Linked DNA regions of Homo sapiens: regions 2, 3 and 4 are each linked to region 1. The links are contacts of gene promoters, found by promoter capture Hi-C in blood cells and fetal thymus (Javierre and others, 2016). All regions are on one chromosome and are shown on one strand. Each heading gives the region's core, a stretch centred on a gene start or on the middle of the fragment in contact. The rest is flanking DNA. Distances are from core to core; before and after follow the strand shown. Region 1 holds the start of GGT6 (gamma-glutamyltransferase 6). Region 2 overlaps LOC105371499 (a long non-coding RNA gene). Region 3 overlaps SPNS3 (SPNS lysolipid transporter 3, sphingosine-1-phosphate (putative)). Region 4 holds the start of LOC105371499 (a long non-coding RNA gene).

Region 1 (3,867 bases), core at 1,292-3,791:
GCAGGCATGGGGGACACTGGAGACATGGGCGTGCTCTGTGTGGGCTGCCACCTGGAGCAGGGTCCCTTGGCCACAAGTGCTGGGATGCTCTGTTGGTTCTTGCTGACCCTGATGCTGGTGCTGGGCCTGGGTAGGGGGCCTTGCTGCCAGATGCCTGAGTAGGGTGTGAGTCATGGCCCTGGCCACATCAGGGGTCCCTGAAGCCACAAGCCCCAACACATCAGCCTCTGTGTCATCCAGGCTGCCACGGAGGATGAGGGGGCAGGCCCAGGCACTAGTGGTAGACTTGGCCACCAGGTTGCTGAGCAGAACCCCAGTGCTTGGGGACAGGTGTGCAGAGCCAAAGGAGCAGTTGAGCGAGGAGGTGAGAAGGAGCACAGAGCCGCTGCTGTCCACGGCGGCCAGGGCACTGCTCTCGGGGCTCACAGCAGTCTGCAGGAACGGTGGGCAGGGGTCAGGGATGGGCGCCCCGGAGCGCAGGGCTGCCTCCAACAGTGCCAGCAGTTCTGGGCCAGCTGAGGGACTGGGGGTGGTGAACAGGATGCCCTGGGGCACAGGTAGCTGCTCTGCTGGTTCCAAAGTGGGCCTGGGCACAGCCGAGGGCACCTCCACCCCCAGGTCTCCCGCCAGTAGACTCAGTAGAGCATCCCCAGCAAGGTCTGAGGTGGGAGCGAGGGCTGCGCTGCGAAGCACAGCTGCCAGTTGTGGGTTGGTGGCTCGGGCCCCAGCGCCCAGGGGTGTCCCATCAGCATGGCAAAGTAGTGGACAGAGGCCTTCTGTGCCCCGAGCCACCAGAGCCCTTGCCAGGGGTGTGTCCACCAGGAAGCCCTCCTGAGCCAGCGTGGTGGGGCCCACTAGCAGGCGTGGCCAGGGCAGGCGGCCGAAGCGTGCATGCAGCAGGTGCAGGGTGGGCAGAGCCGCGGGCAGCCCCAGGCCGGGGGCCAGGGTCTGTGCTGGGCCTGATGTCAGGGCCGTGGAATTGCCTGAGGAGCTATCGTGGAAGAGGCCCCAAAACATGGCACCTGCAGGAGACAGAGGGGTCCCTCAGCAGCCGCAGGTCAAGGGTCACTGACTTGTTTCAGTCAAGATCCCTTGACTGAGCCTGGGATCAGGAGTTACTGACCAGGCCTGAGGTCAAAGTTCCACAGACCCGGGCTCAAGGGTCATAGCCTGGGGTTGGACTGCTGCCCAAACCCTAAGTCCTGCTCACTTAGCAGTCTTGAGGTCAGTGCTACTGACTCCCTAAGTTCCAGGTCACTGATCAGGCTGTGGGTTGGGGTTGCAGTCTGGGGTCAGGGGTCACTGACCTAGCCCCGTGGCATGAGGATGCACCACTGCCAGGCACAATGCAGCTCCAACTCCAGCATCCACGACGTTGCCCCCGGCAACAAGCAGCTCTCGGCCTAGGTGGGAGCATGTGGCTGCAGCAAGGAAGGCACTGTCATGCAGCAAGGAGGGGGGCTAGGCTGGGCTGGTGACCCCTGACCCTCCCCTCCCCAAGCCGCCCCCAGCACTGACTGACCTGCAGGGCTGATGATGGCACCGTGGTGGTATACGCCAGGGCCGTGGGAGTGTCCGCCGGGTGGAGGGGCCACAGAGCCCAAGCTTCCTGTCGACCTGCCCTGATTCTGGAGCTGCCTCACAGCCAGGGAGCAGCCAACAGCCAGCAGCAGCAGGGCTGCCACTACACGGGCCCAGGTTCCGGGCAGCCCGCCAGCCTTGTTCCTGCAGAGGGGGGGTGTCCTGAGCCACGGCTGGGACAGAGGGATGCCCAAGGACCCCAAGAGACCCCAGGGAATATTTCCCAAAAGGTTTGATTTAGCAAGAGGAGCACAAGTCAGCCAAGGAGAAAGGGCTTCTTGGCAGCGGGTGCATCTTGGGCAGACATGGGGATGGGAAAGCATCTGGGGAAACTGAGCCTAGCTAGGGAGGGAGCCTCTGGAGGGGAGATTGGTGGGGCAGAGTCCACTCAGGTGGGAGGGAGGCCCAGTGGGGTGTGGCAGGCAGGAGAGAAGGGGCTGGGGAGCAGGCCCAGCCAGGCGTAGTCAGGCCCCAACCTGCCCAGCAGGTGCCTCCTGCACCAGGACTTGGGGGCTGGGGACCTTTGACAAAGCAGCAGATGGGACAGAGGCTGGCTTGGTACAAATGTCCCTCCAGATGCACAGACTTTTGATTGGGTCAGGCCAAGTCTCGGGCTACAGCCTGGGTTTTCCCCCAAATTGACCGTACAGTGCCTGGAGCTAAACCCAGCGGGGAGTCGCCTGGTCCCCCTGAGGGGCTCCAGAGAGAGGGACTTGCCAACCTCAAGCCTGGGGAGCCTGGTGCCCAGACCCCTCCCTTACTTACCTGGAAGAGTCCTGGTGCCTCCGGGGGTTTAGAACCAGCGCCTCTGATGTCTCCTCCTCCTCCACTTCCTCCTCCGACTCCAAGCTTGGCTCCCAGGGCAGCAGCTTCTGATAGACCACGGGCTCTTCTGCCCGCTCCATGGCCCCCCAGTGCTCGCCCCAGCCCTCCTGCCTGCCAGCCTTTCCGGCTGTGTCTCAGAGGCCCTGCCCAAGCCTGGCAGGTGGGAGGTGGCAGCGACCTTGGGGAAGGGTGGGGGTGGAATCCAGAACAGGTCTGGGCAGGGCACGGGGCCAAGGAGGCTGCATGTGAGCCTGCCCCATTAGGACACAAGGCCCGAGGAGCTCTCGCGACAGGGTTCCCGGGGTGACTGCCTGTAAGGGGCCACAGCTCAGTGAGGTCGAGAAGGAGTTCAGCCTTAATGCCACAACCTTGATACTCAGGGCACCTGCTGGGCTCCTCCCCTTGGGGGATGTAGCCCATGGATCCCACCCACCTGGGACTCTAGGGACTGTGGACTTGAATTAGAGCTACGGTTTCACGGTGGCTTGGGTCAGAGCTCCCACGTGCTTGAGTCTGCACGTGACTAGGTTCTGGCGTAGGGGTGTCTGGTCTCTGGCCGGGGTCAAGGCTCAGCCTGTGGCTACTCTGGGTCTGGGTTTCTTTGAGGAGCAACTTGGTTCGTAACTCCCTGTGCGTGTTTTGCGACTCTTGTCCAGAAGGTAGCGCCACAGCCTGGAAACCAACATTTCTAAATTCATTCTGGGATTCCCATCAAGGACTTGTTGCAAAACAGTGCTGTTTGTAACAGTCCCAAATTGGAAAGTGCCCAAACATCCATTATCGTTAGAATGAATGATGTAAGTCACAATGGACCACTCTGCAGCAAAGAGAGTGAGTGATCTACAATTATATGCAATAATATACACAGGTCTGACAAGCATAAGGACGAGGGAAAGCAGCCAGGCAGGAGACAGCGCACGCTATATGCTTTCATTTACACAAAGTACACAAACAGGCAACAACAAAAGAGCAACAACAGTCTGCCCTTAGAAGTCAGATAGTGACTGGAGGAGGTACCAGGGGGTTTCTGGAATGCTGGAGATGTCCTTTCTTTCCTTCCTTTCTTTCCTTTCCTTTTTCCTTTACCTTTCTTTTCTTTCTCTTCTTTCTTTCTTGACAGAGTTTTCATTCTTGTTGCCCAGGCTGGAGTGCAATGGTGCAATCTCAGCTCACTGCAACTTCCACCTCCTGGGTTCAAGCAATTCTTCTGCCTCAGCCTCCCGAGTAGCTGGGATTACAGGCACATGCCACCACGCCTGGCTAATTTTTTGTATTTTTAGTAGAGACAGGGTTTCACCATGTTGGCCAGCCTGGTCTTGAACTCTTGACCTCAGGTGATCCGCCCGCCTCAGCCTCCCAAAAGTACTAGGATTACGGGTGTGAGCCACCGCGCCCGGCCGAGATGTTGTTTCTTAATCTGAGTGTTGGTGACACGAGTGCCCTGGGTGTGAAAATGCATTG
Region 2 (3,867 bases), core at 888-3,387, 100 kb after region 1:
GGCATCCTTTTAGATAAAAGTTGTAAATTTCCTGTCAGTTGGGATTATTTTTGCTTTTGACTGGAGAGACACAAAAATGTGAGGCCAGGCGCGGTGGCTCATGCCTGTAATCCCAGCACTTTGGGAGGCCAAGGCGGGCAGATCACCTGAGGTTGGGAGTTCGAGACCAGCCTGACCAACATGGAAGAAACCCCTGTCTCTACTAAAAATACAAAATTAGCCGGGCATGGTAGCGCTTGCCTGTAATTAATCCCAGCTACTCAGGAGGCTGAGGCAGGAGAATCGCTTAAACCCAGGAGGCAGAGGTTGCGGTGAACCAAGATCGTGCTCCAGCCTGGGCAACAAGAGAAAAACTCCATCTCAAAAACGTTTGGAATTCAAGACCAGCCTGGCCAAGATGATAAAACCCCGTCTCTACTAAAAAATACAAAAATTAGCCAGGTGTGGTGATGTGCACCTGTAATCCCAGCTACTTGGGAGGCTGAGGCAGGAGAATCACTTGAACCTGGGAGGCGGAGGTTGCAGTGAGCCGAGATCCCACCACTGCACTCCAGCCTGGGTGACAGAGCAAAACTCCATCTCAAAAAAAACAAAAACAAAAAAAAGGCTTTAACGGCTAAGTAGAAGTTAGCACAGGTGGTCCATGCTATAGAGATTCAGCTAAGGGCCATGAATAGATACATGTAGGGATCAGGGAAGGAATGAGCTTAGGGATGGGATAAGGGACAGAGTTCGTGTCAGGGATGGGACCTGTGAATTGGTGACATAGGAAGCTGAAATTCACAAACAGCTATAAAAGACATTAATGGGAAAATTCACATATGGACAACATATTAGATAACAGTATTCTCTCATTTGTTAAAATTCTTGACTGATAATTGTATCGTGATTGTGTAAGAGAATGTCCTCAATCTTGGGAAATACTATATAAATATTCAGGAGTATATTAGTGTTTAAGAATAAGGTATGATGGTGCAACTTACTCTCAAATGGTTCAAGAAAGAAAATTCAGATATCGCCAGGCGTGGTGGCTCACGCCTGTAATCCCAGCACTTTGGGAGGCCGAGGCAGGCAGATCACGAGGTCAGGAGATCGAGACCATCCTGGCTAACATGGTGAAACCCCGTCTCTACTAAAAATACAAAAAATTAGCTGGGTGCGGTGGCGGGTGCCTGTAGTCCCAGCTACTCGGGAGGCTGAGGCAGGAGAATGGTGTGAACCTGGGAGGCGGAGCTTGCCATGAGCCGAGATCGCGCCACTGCACTCCAGCCTGGGCGACAGAGTGAGACTCCGTCTCAAAAAAATAAATAAATAAAAATTAAAAAAAAGAAAGAAAGAAAAAGAAAACTCAGATATCAAGAAAGTGAATGTGGCAAACTTTAATATTTGGTTAGTCTAAGTTCAGGGTAGCTGTTGAACTGCTATTGTTATCTTTTCTACAGATCTGAAAATGTTTGGGGAATAAATGAAGTTCTAGATGTTTGTCAGCTGAAATACTAGTTTGCTATAGTATAAAGGTCAAAATGTCCCGCTTTTTGTCTCCAGCCACGTAGGATTGGTAGAGCTCCCCAACCTTCTTCTAGCCAGAATACCTGCCCCTCAGACTGTCCAAAACACAGGCACTACTCTCCAAACCCTTCTGATACCTTTATATCTTCCCACCACACTCAACCCCTTTATGGACCTGGCAGCTCTCTCTTGGGGCACCCATTTGTACTCTATTACCTAACAATTTCCCTTCATTGTATTTATCCATTTACCTTTCTCTTTCTCGGGAGACTGAGAGACCCCTGGAGACAGTGACTGTGTAGTTTTCATTTTTATCTCCAACATCTAGCACAACATGTGGCCTACAGGAAGTACTATATGCATGTTGCGGAAGGAACAAGTGAATGAAAGGCTTGCTGGGTGGAAAAGCAGACAGTGTAGTTGCAGTACGACAAATGAGGCCGGGTGCGGTGGCTCACGCCTGTAATCCCAACACTTTGGGAGGCCAAGGAGGGTGGATCGACTGAGGTCGGGAGTTCGAGACCAGCCTGACCAACGTGGAGAAACCCCATCTCTACTAAAAATACAAAATTAGCTGGGCATGGTAGCACATGCCTGTAATCCCAGCAACTCGGGAGGCTGAGGCAGGAGAATCGCTTGAACCCGGGAGGCGGAGGTTGCGGTGAGCTGAGATCGCGCGCCACCGTACTGTACCCTAGGCAACAAGAGCGAAACTCTGTCTAAAAAAAAAAAAAGACAAATGAAAGCAGGGCTGGTTGGCAGGAACTGAACTGGTCAGAGTGTAAATGAGTGCAGGTTCTTAGTGTTCAAGACCCAAAAGTGTGGCTTCAGCACCATGTTTCACAGGAGAGGCTGAGAAACCAAAGACATGGGAGACTTCAGGGAGTTAGATGTCCGAAAGGTGAAGAAATCTGGGGCAACACTTAGTTCAAGTGTTGGGAAACATTAGAACAGCATGAGATAAGGCAGACCAAGGGTCTTTGCAAAGGACTGAAAACGAGAAGAAACCTCTTGAGCTCTGGATCCCATGCGGGAGCATTTCCTTGACTTCGTGTGCACAAATATCTCTTTATGCCGAGTCTTTTGCCAGGAACCACATGGAGAAAAGAAGGCCTAACACACAACCCTTGTCCAGGGGGTCTACAGATAAGTTGCTATTTAGGGAAATCCACTGGGCAGTTTGTAGGGAGGTCACTCATCCAGTATTTGAAAACAGATTTGCACTGGACCCAGACAGGTCAAAGACTAGAAGTGGAAGTGACCCAGGCCCCGGGACTGAGGATCCATGAGACCCCACAGTGACAAAGTCCTAAGAATGGCACCCTGTGGGCTCCCTAGGATCTGTGCCCTGAGAACTGCCCCTCAAAGTCTCCTTGGCTTGCAAGGGGTGAAGTGGGGGGAGGGTGTGCCATGCTAGGGGTGCCCTACCACCCCAGCCCATTCTTTTTTGTTGCATTCAGTCAAAAGGGAGCAGGCTGCAACAGACGGTGTGAGAGGAACCCGAGCAGCTAAGCTCCCATCAGAACTCAGTTTCTCAATCTGCTCCAGCAATGCACATCCACCCCGCTGGAGAGGGAGCCTCCCCGGGTTCTTGCAGAGCTTATCCTACTGCAGGTGATGGTTTGCTTATCTCCCACGTTCAGCTCAAAGAACTGAGGAGGAACCACAATTAGACATTCGTTTGTTCATTGGTTCATTCATTCATTCGTTACTGAGCCCCTTCTACATAACAGGAATTTGGAACTGGGGATGCAGCAACAGACAAACCAACAATGTCTCTGCTCTAATGGTGTTTACATTCTATTGCGAGGAGACCAACTAAATATTCAAAAATATATATCATATATATCAGGTGGGGGGTGGGGGAAGCAGGAGCTAATGAGGGGAGATGGAGGCAAGAGGGGAGTTTTAGACAGGATGGCCAGTTAAGGCTTCTGAAGAGAAAGCATCAAACCTCTGCCTCTGTTGGGGTGGCCAGGGCCCAGAAGCCTGAGATCTTGGAGCTCTGCCTCTCTGTCCCTGCAGACTGAGAAGGAACCATAGAGAGGCTGAGGAGCAGCTGCTCCCTGGCCGACAGAAACCATTCAAAGAACATACCATTCAGGAACCAAGTAGGGCAGGCGCCTGGGTTGCCACAGTCCCTGTGCTGAGGTGTGAGTGGCGGCGGAGCAGGGCCGGCACCTCACCGCACCATCTTCTCTCCTTCCTTCACGAGGTCTTACTCTTCCCCAGATCCAATGGACATTTCTCAACAGCACGATGTTTTCTATGTTTTCTGCCTCCTGTTTGAAGTTCTTTTCTGGGACATGGCCTTCTCCAAGTCCTCTTCACGCTCCTTAAAGGGGCTCCTCTTGCCCC
Region 3 (3,867 bases), core at 806-3,305, 110 kb before region 1:
ATTTTTTTTTGAGACAGAGTTTCACTCTCGTTGCCCAGGCTGGAGTGCAGTGGCACAATCTTGGCTGACTGCAGTTTCCACCTCCCAGGTTCAAGTGATTCTCCTACCTCAGCCTCCCGAGTAGCTAAGATTACAGGCATGTGCTACCATGCCCAGCTATTTTTTTTTTTTTTTTTGTATTTTTAGTAGAGATGGGGTTTCACCATGTTGGGCAGGCTGGTCTCGGACTCCTGACCTCGAATGACTGGCCCGCCTCAGCCTCCCGAAGTGCTGGAATTACAGGCGTGAGCCACCGTGCCCGGCCGAACTTACAGATCCTTAAGGGCTCTCTTGGCTGTAAGAGTCTGTGATGCTGGGAGGGCCCTGTGTGGATGGAGGGAACATGAAGGGCTTGGTAGCTGGGGCATGTCCTCTGGCTGCCCCTCCTGCTTAGGGGCTGGCGGGGGTGCATTTTCAGGCAGCCTGTCTAAATAATCAATCCTAAGTCTCATGAATATCTCGAGAACCTGCCAAGGTCAGCCCAGACCAGGACTCAGAGGCAGCTAGCATACATCCGGGATTTGGGTCATTTGACTGGGCTGAGCCAGACCTCGCACAGCTTGGAAGCCTGGGAAGGTTTAGAAAGCACTTCTTCTTCTTCTTCTTTGTTTTTTTTTTTTTTCCATTTGAGACAGAGTCTTGCTGTGTTGCTAGGCTGGAGTGCAGTAGCACGATCTCGGCTCACTGCAACCTCGGCCTCCCGGGTTCAAGCGATTCTCCTGCCTCAGCCTCCCAAGTAGCTGGGACTACAGGCGCACACCACCACGCCCAGCTAATTTTTGTACTTTTGGTAGAGAATTTAGAGAATTCTCAGTCATTTGTGCAAAGTGAGGGTGGGAGAAGAGAGGGCAAGCTACATCGGTCAGCGTGGACCAGTCCCGCAGAGTCATCAGTGCTGGTCAGGAGCTTGCTCAGAGGACGACAGGGAGCTATTGAGAGGTTGGAAAGATCCTGGTTGGACTGGTGTTTTCAAGAGTTCACAGTGGGCACAGTCTCAGCGTTCCCTTTGAGCTCCTTTATTTGTTTTGTTTTGTTTTGTTTTTGAGACGGAGTCTTGCTCTCTTGCCCAGGCTGGAGTGCAGTGGTGTGATCTCAGCTCACTGCAACCTCCACCTCCCGGATTCAAGTGATTCTCCTGCCTCAACCTCCTGAGTGGGCTGGGATTACAGGTGCCCACCACTGTTCCCAGCTAATTTTTGTATTTTTTTTTTTTTTTAGTAGAGACGGGGTTTTGCTGTATCGGCCAGGCTGGTCTTGAATTCCTGACCTCAAGTGATCCACCCACCTCGGCCTCCCAAAGTGCTGGGATTACAAGCTTAAGCCACCTTGCCTGGTCCCCTTTGAGCTCCTTTAAAAGGGGGCTGGAGGTTGCACAATGGACCAGGAGGGTGAAGAAGTATATTCAAATCCTGGTCTGTAATTTACCAGCTGGGTAATCTTGGCCTTGACTTTTCTCAGCCTCACCTTGCTCACCTATCCATCTGGGAATTGTTGCCCAAGCTGGAGTGCAGTGGTATGATCATAGCTCACTGTGGCCTCGAACTTCTGAGCTCAAGCGATCCTCCCGCCTCAGCCTCCTGAGTAGCTGGGACTACAGGTGCACGCCACCAAGGCTGGATGATTTAAAAATTTTTTGTAGAGACAAAATCTTTCTGATCTGGAACTCCTCCCACCACAGATCTCCTGCCACAAAATGCACTCCTGGGGAGCCTTTGTGGAGGTTATTTTGGAGGGACAGGTCTCCACAGGAAGGATGTACAAGGGGAAGCCAAGCAGAGTAGAAGTGGCTCTAAAAGTGGGTGGGAAAGGGACGGAAGTCAGGTAGGGGCTGCCTGAGAGGGGTTCAAAGACGGGGAGTGGAAGGATGGGATTCAAGGAGGGAGGGCGTGTAGAGAGCCCAGACAAGGGCCAGGTGTATCACAGGGGCTCAGTAAATACATGTTTGCTTCCCTCCATTCCTCTTAGTACTGGGAGCTGGAAAGAGAGAAGGTTGGGGCCAGGGTGGGACCCTGGAATTCAGATTTTGAGTGGGGCAGTTTTGGGGGGTGAAAGGGTAAGGGTCAATGGAGATGAGGCAGGCTGGGACCTGGGGTGCAGGGTGATCACCCACATGGCCAGTGGGATCCCCAGGATGAGACAGGAGATGAGGCAGGAAAGGGGGTAGGGGAGAGCAGTGGGACATTGGTCCCTGGGAGTATCAGTGAGGAGGGTGGGTAAGGTTCTGGGTCAGGTCAGGGGCCCACAGCCATATTCCCTGTAGACACCAGATCATGCACTTGAGCCGAGGGGCTAGACCTGGGGCTGGGAGCAGGATAAGAGTCCCTATGCTAAGCTCACCCAGCTGACCAACCCTTCTGTGCTCTTCCCCATCAGCCTGATTTTTGGGGCACTGACCATCATGACCGGCGTCATTGGGGTCATCTTGGGGGCAGAAGCTGCGAGGAGGTACAAGAAAGTCATTCCAGGAGCTGAGCCCCTCATCTGCGCCTCCAGCCTGCTTGCCACAGCCCCCTGCCTCTACCTGGCTCTCGTCCTGGCCCCGACCACCCTGCTGGCCTCCTATGTAAGTGAGAGCCTCTATGGAGGTGGGGACAGGGTTGGGGGGCGAGGAACTCCTGTTTCCACAGGCTCATGCTGCGCCCGGCCTTTATGTACAATTATGTTGATCACTCCTTCTGAGTAGAGCTTGTTATCCCCATTTTACAGATCAGTAAAGAGAAGCTTGGCTGGACGCGGTGGCTCATGTCTGTAATCCTAGCACTTTGGGAGGTCAAGGCCGGCCTGGCCAATATGGTGAAACCCTGTCTCTACTAAAAATACAAAAAATTAGCTGGGCATGGTGGCAGGCACCTATAATCCCAGCTGCTTGGGAGGCTGAGGCAGGAGAATCGCTTGAACGCGGGAGGTGGAGGTTGCAGTGAGCTGAGATTGCGCCACTGCACTCCAGCCTGGGCAATGGAGCAAGACTCCATCTTGGGGGAAAAAAACAGAGAGAGAAGCTTACCAGGAGTTCCACAGTGAAGAAGGGGCAGAACTGGGATTTGAGCCTGAGCTTTTCTGACTGTAAAAGGTGTCCTCTGAGCATTGGGTTAATGTGTTAATTTGAGAAAATAGGACTCATTTATTGCCAGGGCATATTGTGGGCCCAAGAAGAAATAGAGCAATTCTCCCCAGGTTACAGAGGAGGGAAGCAAGGCCCAGATTGGTTATGGCCAATGTGGACGCTGCTTTAAGGGCAATAATCATGGTAATATCAAGTGTTCCAAATCCACATCCCATCACACCCCTTCATGGGCCTCACACTCTGGCTGTGCCAGCCGTGTGGGCACACACACTTCCCAGACTTTGCACGCGTCCATTTCTTCCACCAAGAACACCAGTTCCTCTTTTGTGCATCCTGAAATCCTCCTTCTGCAAGACTCAACTCAAAGTCCGCTTCCTCCAAAAGCCTTCCCCTACCACTCTATCCTCACACCAGAATTCACGTTCCCACTTGGGCTCAGCACCTGTTTGGGTCCCATGAGGCACCAAGGTTTATGGGGCCTGTCCACAGACAGGGAGCCCAAAGGGCAGGACCAGAGCCAGAGGGTCCCTGTGTGCAGCCGTGTCCCTGGCTCCCCAAAGCCCCAGCCCTGCCTGTCCCCCAACATGGGAAAGGGCTACTGCTTCTGGGAAGATGACGCCAGCCCAGCCACAAGCAGAGGGGCTAGACCTCTCCTCCTTTCCCAGCTCCATGGCCCTGGGCCCTGTGGCTGCAGACACAGATGCGCTTGCACATGTTAACCAGGTTTACTGAGCAGACTGGACTTTGGAAAAGTAAACCAGCCA
Region 4 (3,867 bases), core at 913-3,412, 86 kb after region 1:
CCCAGGCTGGAGTGCAGTGGCGCGATCTTGGCTCACTAAAACCTCTGCCTCCCGGGCTCAAGCAATTCTCCTGCCTTAGTCTCTCGAGTAGCTGGAATTACAGTCGCCTGCCACCATGCCCGGCTAATTTTTTGTATTTTTAGTAGAGATGGGTTTTCGCTATGTTGGCCAGGCTAGTCTCGAACTCCTGGCCTCATGTGATCAGCCTGCCTCAGCCTCCCAAAGTGCTGGGATTACAGGTGTGAGCCACCGTGCCCAACCAAAAGGTTTTTTTTATAAGTGAAATTCAGAAAAATCAAAATGTGGTGGGTAAAATTCATCTTCCATAGAAATGGCACAAACCCAGTAATTTTCTTGCAGATTAAAAGTGTGATTGAAGAGTTGGGAAGGCTTCCAAAAGTAATTCACAGTAACTTGTGGGTAGACTGAGTGAGGTTAGATTATGATGCAGTTGTGATGGGAGAGGAAAGACCCAGGCCATTTCTTCCCGTCTTGGATAGGGATATCTATGGTGGTTAGCCTATGCCTGTTCCAACATTGTATGTTGGGGGTGGGGTCAGATGACTTTCTCTTTAGTTTACAGGTCTTCAGAAGAAGAGGAGCCCAGGCACGGTGGCTCATGCCTGTAATCCCAGCACTTTGGGAGGTCGAGGTGGGAGAATCAGCTGAGTTCAGGAGTTCAAGACCAGCCTGACCAACATGGTGAAACCTCATCTCTACTAAAAATACAAAAAGTAGCCAGGCATGGTGGTGGACACCTGTAATCCCAGCTACTCAGGAGGCTGAGGCAGGAGAATCGCTTGAACCCCAGAGGCAGAGATTGCAGTGACCTGAGATCGTGCCACTGCACTCCAGCCTGGGCAACAGAGTGAAACTTCTTTAAAAAAGAAAAAAAAAAAGAAGAGGAGGAATTGTATTCTGGAAGTATACTTAAGGTAATACAGTTGAGAAATCTCATCTATACATGGACCTGATTTAGATGATGAAATTCTAGACTTTGAGCTGATGCTATAATGGGATTCGACTTTGGGGTAGCTTGAGAGGGAGCGAGTGTATTTTGCATGTGGAAGGAATGTAAATCACCAGAATTCAGAGGGCATGCTCGTGGTGGCCATTCTTTAAAACATCCCCCAGTGATTCCGACCTCCTGATATGCATGCCTTTCCATAGTCTCCTACATTGTGTCTGGGTTGGTCTGCAAAGCCAATGCAGTATGAAATGATGTGTGTGACTTCCAAAGCTAGGTCCTAAAAGACATTAGGGCTTTCCGTCTCCTCCCTCCCCACTCTCCCTCTTTCTTGTTCTGCTTTCTCTGAGAGAAATTAACTACTATGTCATGAGGTCACTCAAGAAACTCTATGGAGAGGTCCACGTGGCAAGGAACTGAGCCCTCCTGCTACGAGCCAGTGAGGAACTGAACCCTCCAACTACCAACCACGTGGGGCAGCCATCTTGGAAACAGATCCTCCTGCCCCGGTTAAGACTTCAGATGACTACAGCCAATCTCTTGACTGAAACCTCATAAGACTCTTGAACTAGAACCAACTGACTCCCAAAACTGTGTAAGGTAATGGGTGTTTTTTGTTTTGTTTTGTTTTTGAGACAGGGTCTTGCTCTGTCACTCAAGCTGGAGTGCAGTGGCATGGTCACAGCTGACTGTAGCCTCCACCTCCCAGGCTCAAGTGATCTTCCCACCTCAGCTTCCCAAGTAGCTGGGACCACAGGCATGTGCCATCACACCACTGAGTTTTGAGGTCGTTGTAAAGCAGAAATAGATAACTAATACGGTCTGCATGCTTATTTTCTGAATCCTCAAACTCCCAAGCTTATGTAAAGCCAAAAAATATTCAATGAACTGACCACTTTCAAAATTAGTTCACTCACCTCTTCCTCCTTTTTTTTTTTTGTGGCTTTTGTTTTTTTGTGTTTGTTTGTTTGTTTGTTTTTGACCCAGAGTCTCGCTCTGTCACCCAGGCTGGAGTGCAATGGTGCGATTTCGGCTCACTGCAACCTCCACCTCCCAGGTTCAAGCAATTCTCCTGCCTCAGTCTCCCGAGTAGCTGGGAAAACAGGCGCTTGCCGCTATGCCTGGATGATTTTTTGTATTTTTGATAGAGACAGGGTTTCACTGTGTTGCCCAGGCTGGTGTCAAACTCCTGAGCTCAGGTGATCGGCCCGCCTCGGCCTCCCAAAGTGCTGGGATTACAGGCGTGAGCCACTGCACCCGGTTCTTCCTGCTTTATTAATGCCAGCTACCTTTGTCCATCTAACTGGCTACAGAGTGAAATTTCAAGTCTTGAAACATTAGAAGACTTTGTAAAGTCCATAGAAGTACTGTTAGAAAACGGATCAGTCAGCAAAGCAACTGACAAATAATGTTGATGTTGAAAGAAGAGGCATCCACCTGAAGTGGTTCAGATGAGCTGAGCAGGGACAGGAGAGGGCCAGTCAATAAGTGACACATTGGCTGCAGTCAAAGCGACAGGCTTGGACAACGAACAAAGCTTTTCTATGCAGGTGATGTCCACTGGTCACTTATGTGTACCCTCTCTGTCCCGATATGGCTCCAGGACACTGACATCAGATGATATTTCCAAGGTAAGTGCAGAGAAGACCCTGGATGTGGACTTTGCTTCTCCATGGGCCTCCTAATGCCTGGGTTTTTGAAACTCAAAAATCCAAAACTGAGCTCAAGTGCAGTAAGCCCCAGCTGAGATTATGAAAGTACCAGGATCATAAAGATACATGTGTCCACTGGGTGCAGTGGCTCCTACCTGGAATCCCAGCACTTTTGGAGTCTGAGGCGAGAGGATCACTTGAGCTCAGGAGACCAGCCTGGGCAACATCGTGAGATTCTGTCTCTACAAAAATAAAAATTGGCCGGGTGCGGTGGCTCACGCCTGTAATCCCAGCACTTTGGGAGGCCAAGGCGGGTGGATCACCTGAGGTTGGGAGTTCGAGACCAGCCTGGCCAACATAATGAAACCCTGTCTCTAATAAAAATACAAAAATTAGCCGAGCATGGTGGTGGGCAACTATAGTCCTAGCTACTTGGGAGGCTGAGGCATGAGAATCACTTGAACCCAGGAGGCAGAGGTTGCAATGATCCGAGATCGTGGCCACTGCACTGCAGCCTAGGTGACAGAGCGAGACTCCATCTCAAAAAATAAAAACAAAAATAAAAAATATTAGCTGGGCATGATGGTGTTTGCCTGTAATCCCAGCTGTGTGGGAAGCTGAGATGCAAGGATCACTTCAGCCCAGGAGTTCGAGGCTGCAGTGAGCTATGATTGTGCCTGTGAACTCCAGCCTGGACAACAGAGGGAGACCCTGTCTCTGAAAAAACAAAATCAAAAAAATATGTTAATATCGTACTTTACAAGTATTATTTTGTCAAAGTGGTGTCGAGAATGTCAAATATTGCTTCTCAGCTGGGCGCGGTGGCTCACGCCTGGAATCCCAATGCTTTGGGAGGCTGAGGCGGATCACCTGATCAGGTCAGGAGTTCGAGACCAGCCTGGCCAACATGGTGAAACCCCATCTCTACTAAAAATACAAAAATTAGCCAGTCATGATGGTGCGCACCTGTGATCCCAGCTACTTGGGAGGCTGAGGCAGGAGAATGGCTTGAACCTGGGAGGTGGAGCTTGCAGTGAGCCGAGATTGCGCCACTGCACTCCAGCCTGGGCAACAGAGCGAGACTGTGTCTCAAAACAAAACAAAGAACATGTCACTGAAATGTAGGCCTGAGGGAAAGAAGCAAACGATCAGTGGAATTTTTTTCTGCCCAGTGTTAAAAATTGAAATTGACCTCCAAGCTGTCAATGCCTTCAACTCTACCATTGCCCAACAATTCTCAAAAAGATA

The links. Contacts are between HindIII fragments. The CHiCAGO score rates a contact against its expected background, and 5 or more counts as called.
Region 2: a fragment that was not itself captured here is called in contact with the fragment with the promoter of GGT6 in region 1 in 1 of 17 cell types (M1 macrophages); the score reaches 5.8 in M1 macrophages.
Region 3: a contact is called between a fragment that was not itself captured here and the fragment with the promoter of GGT6 in region 1, in 4 of 17 cell types (endothelial precursors, M1 macrophages, M2 macrophages and 1 more). The highest score is 7.4, in endothelial precursors.
Region 4: a contact is called between a fragment that was not itself captured here and the fragment with the promoter of GGT6 in region 1, in 2 of 17 cell types (M1 macrophages and endothelial precursors). The highest score is 7.0, in M1 macrophages.

The regions. Positions count from the first base shown.
Region 1 is chr17:4,558,036-4,561,902 of GRCh38, forward strand. It overlaps GGT6 (gamma-glutamyltransferase 6), which reads right to left and starts at 2,542. Exons shown (of 4, transcript NM_001288702.2): 1 at 2,347-2,542; 2 at 1,523-1,725; 3 at 1,308-1,421; 4 at 1-1,022. The coding sequence starts at 2,486. The HindIII fragment of the contact is 2,996 bases long and covers 2,429-3,867 here.
Region 2 is chr17:4,660,763-4,664,629 of GRCh38, forward strand. All of the region lies in intron 2 of LOC105371499 (a long non-coding RNA gene), which reads left to right. Among named protein-coding and RNA genes, the nearest start is that of ALOX15, 21 kb to the left of the region's middle. RefSeq lists an enhancer at 3,422-3,591. The HindIII fragment of the contact is 7,116 bases long and covers 1-3,867 here.
Region 3 is chr17:4,450,604-4,454,470 of GRCh38, forward strand. SPNS3 (SPNS lysolipid transporter 3, sphingosine-1-phosphate (putative)) reads left to right here. Exons shown (of 12, transcript NM_182538.5): 8 at 2,413-2,602. Among named protein-coding and RNA genes, the nearest start is that of SPNS3, 19 kb to the left of the region's middle. The HindIII fragment of the contact is 1,406 bases long and covers 1,353-2,758 here.
Region 4 is chr17:4,644,433-4,648,299 of GRCh38, forward strand. It overlaps LOC105371499 (a long non-coding RNA gene), which reads left to right and starts at 577. Exons shown (of 3, transcript XR_001752768.2): 1 at 577-1,567; 2 at 2,518-2,598. RefSeq lists a silencer at 3,682-3,867. The HindIII fragment of the contact is 679 bases long and covers 1,824-2,502 here.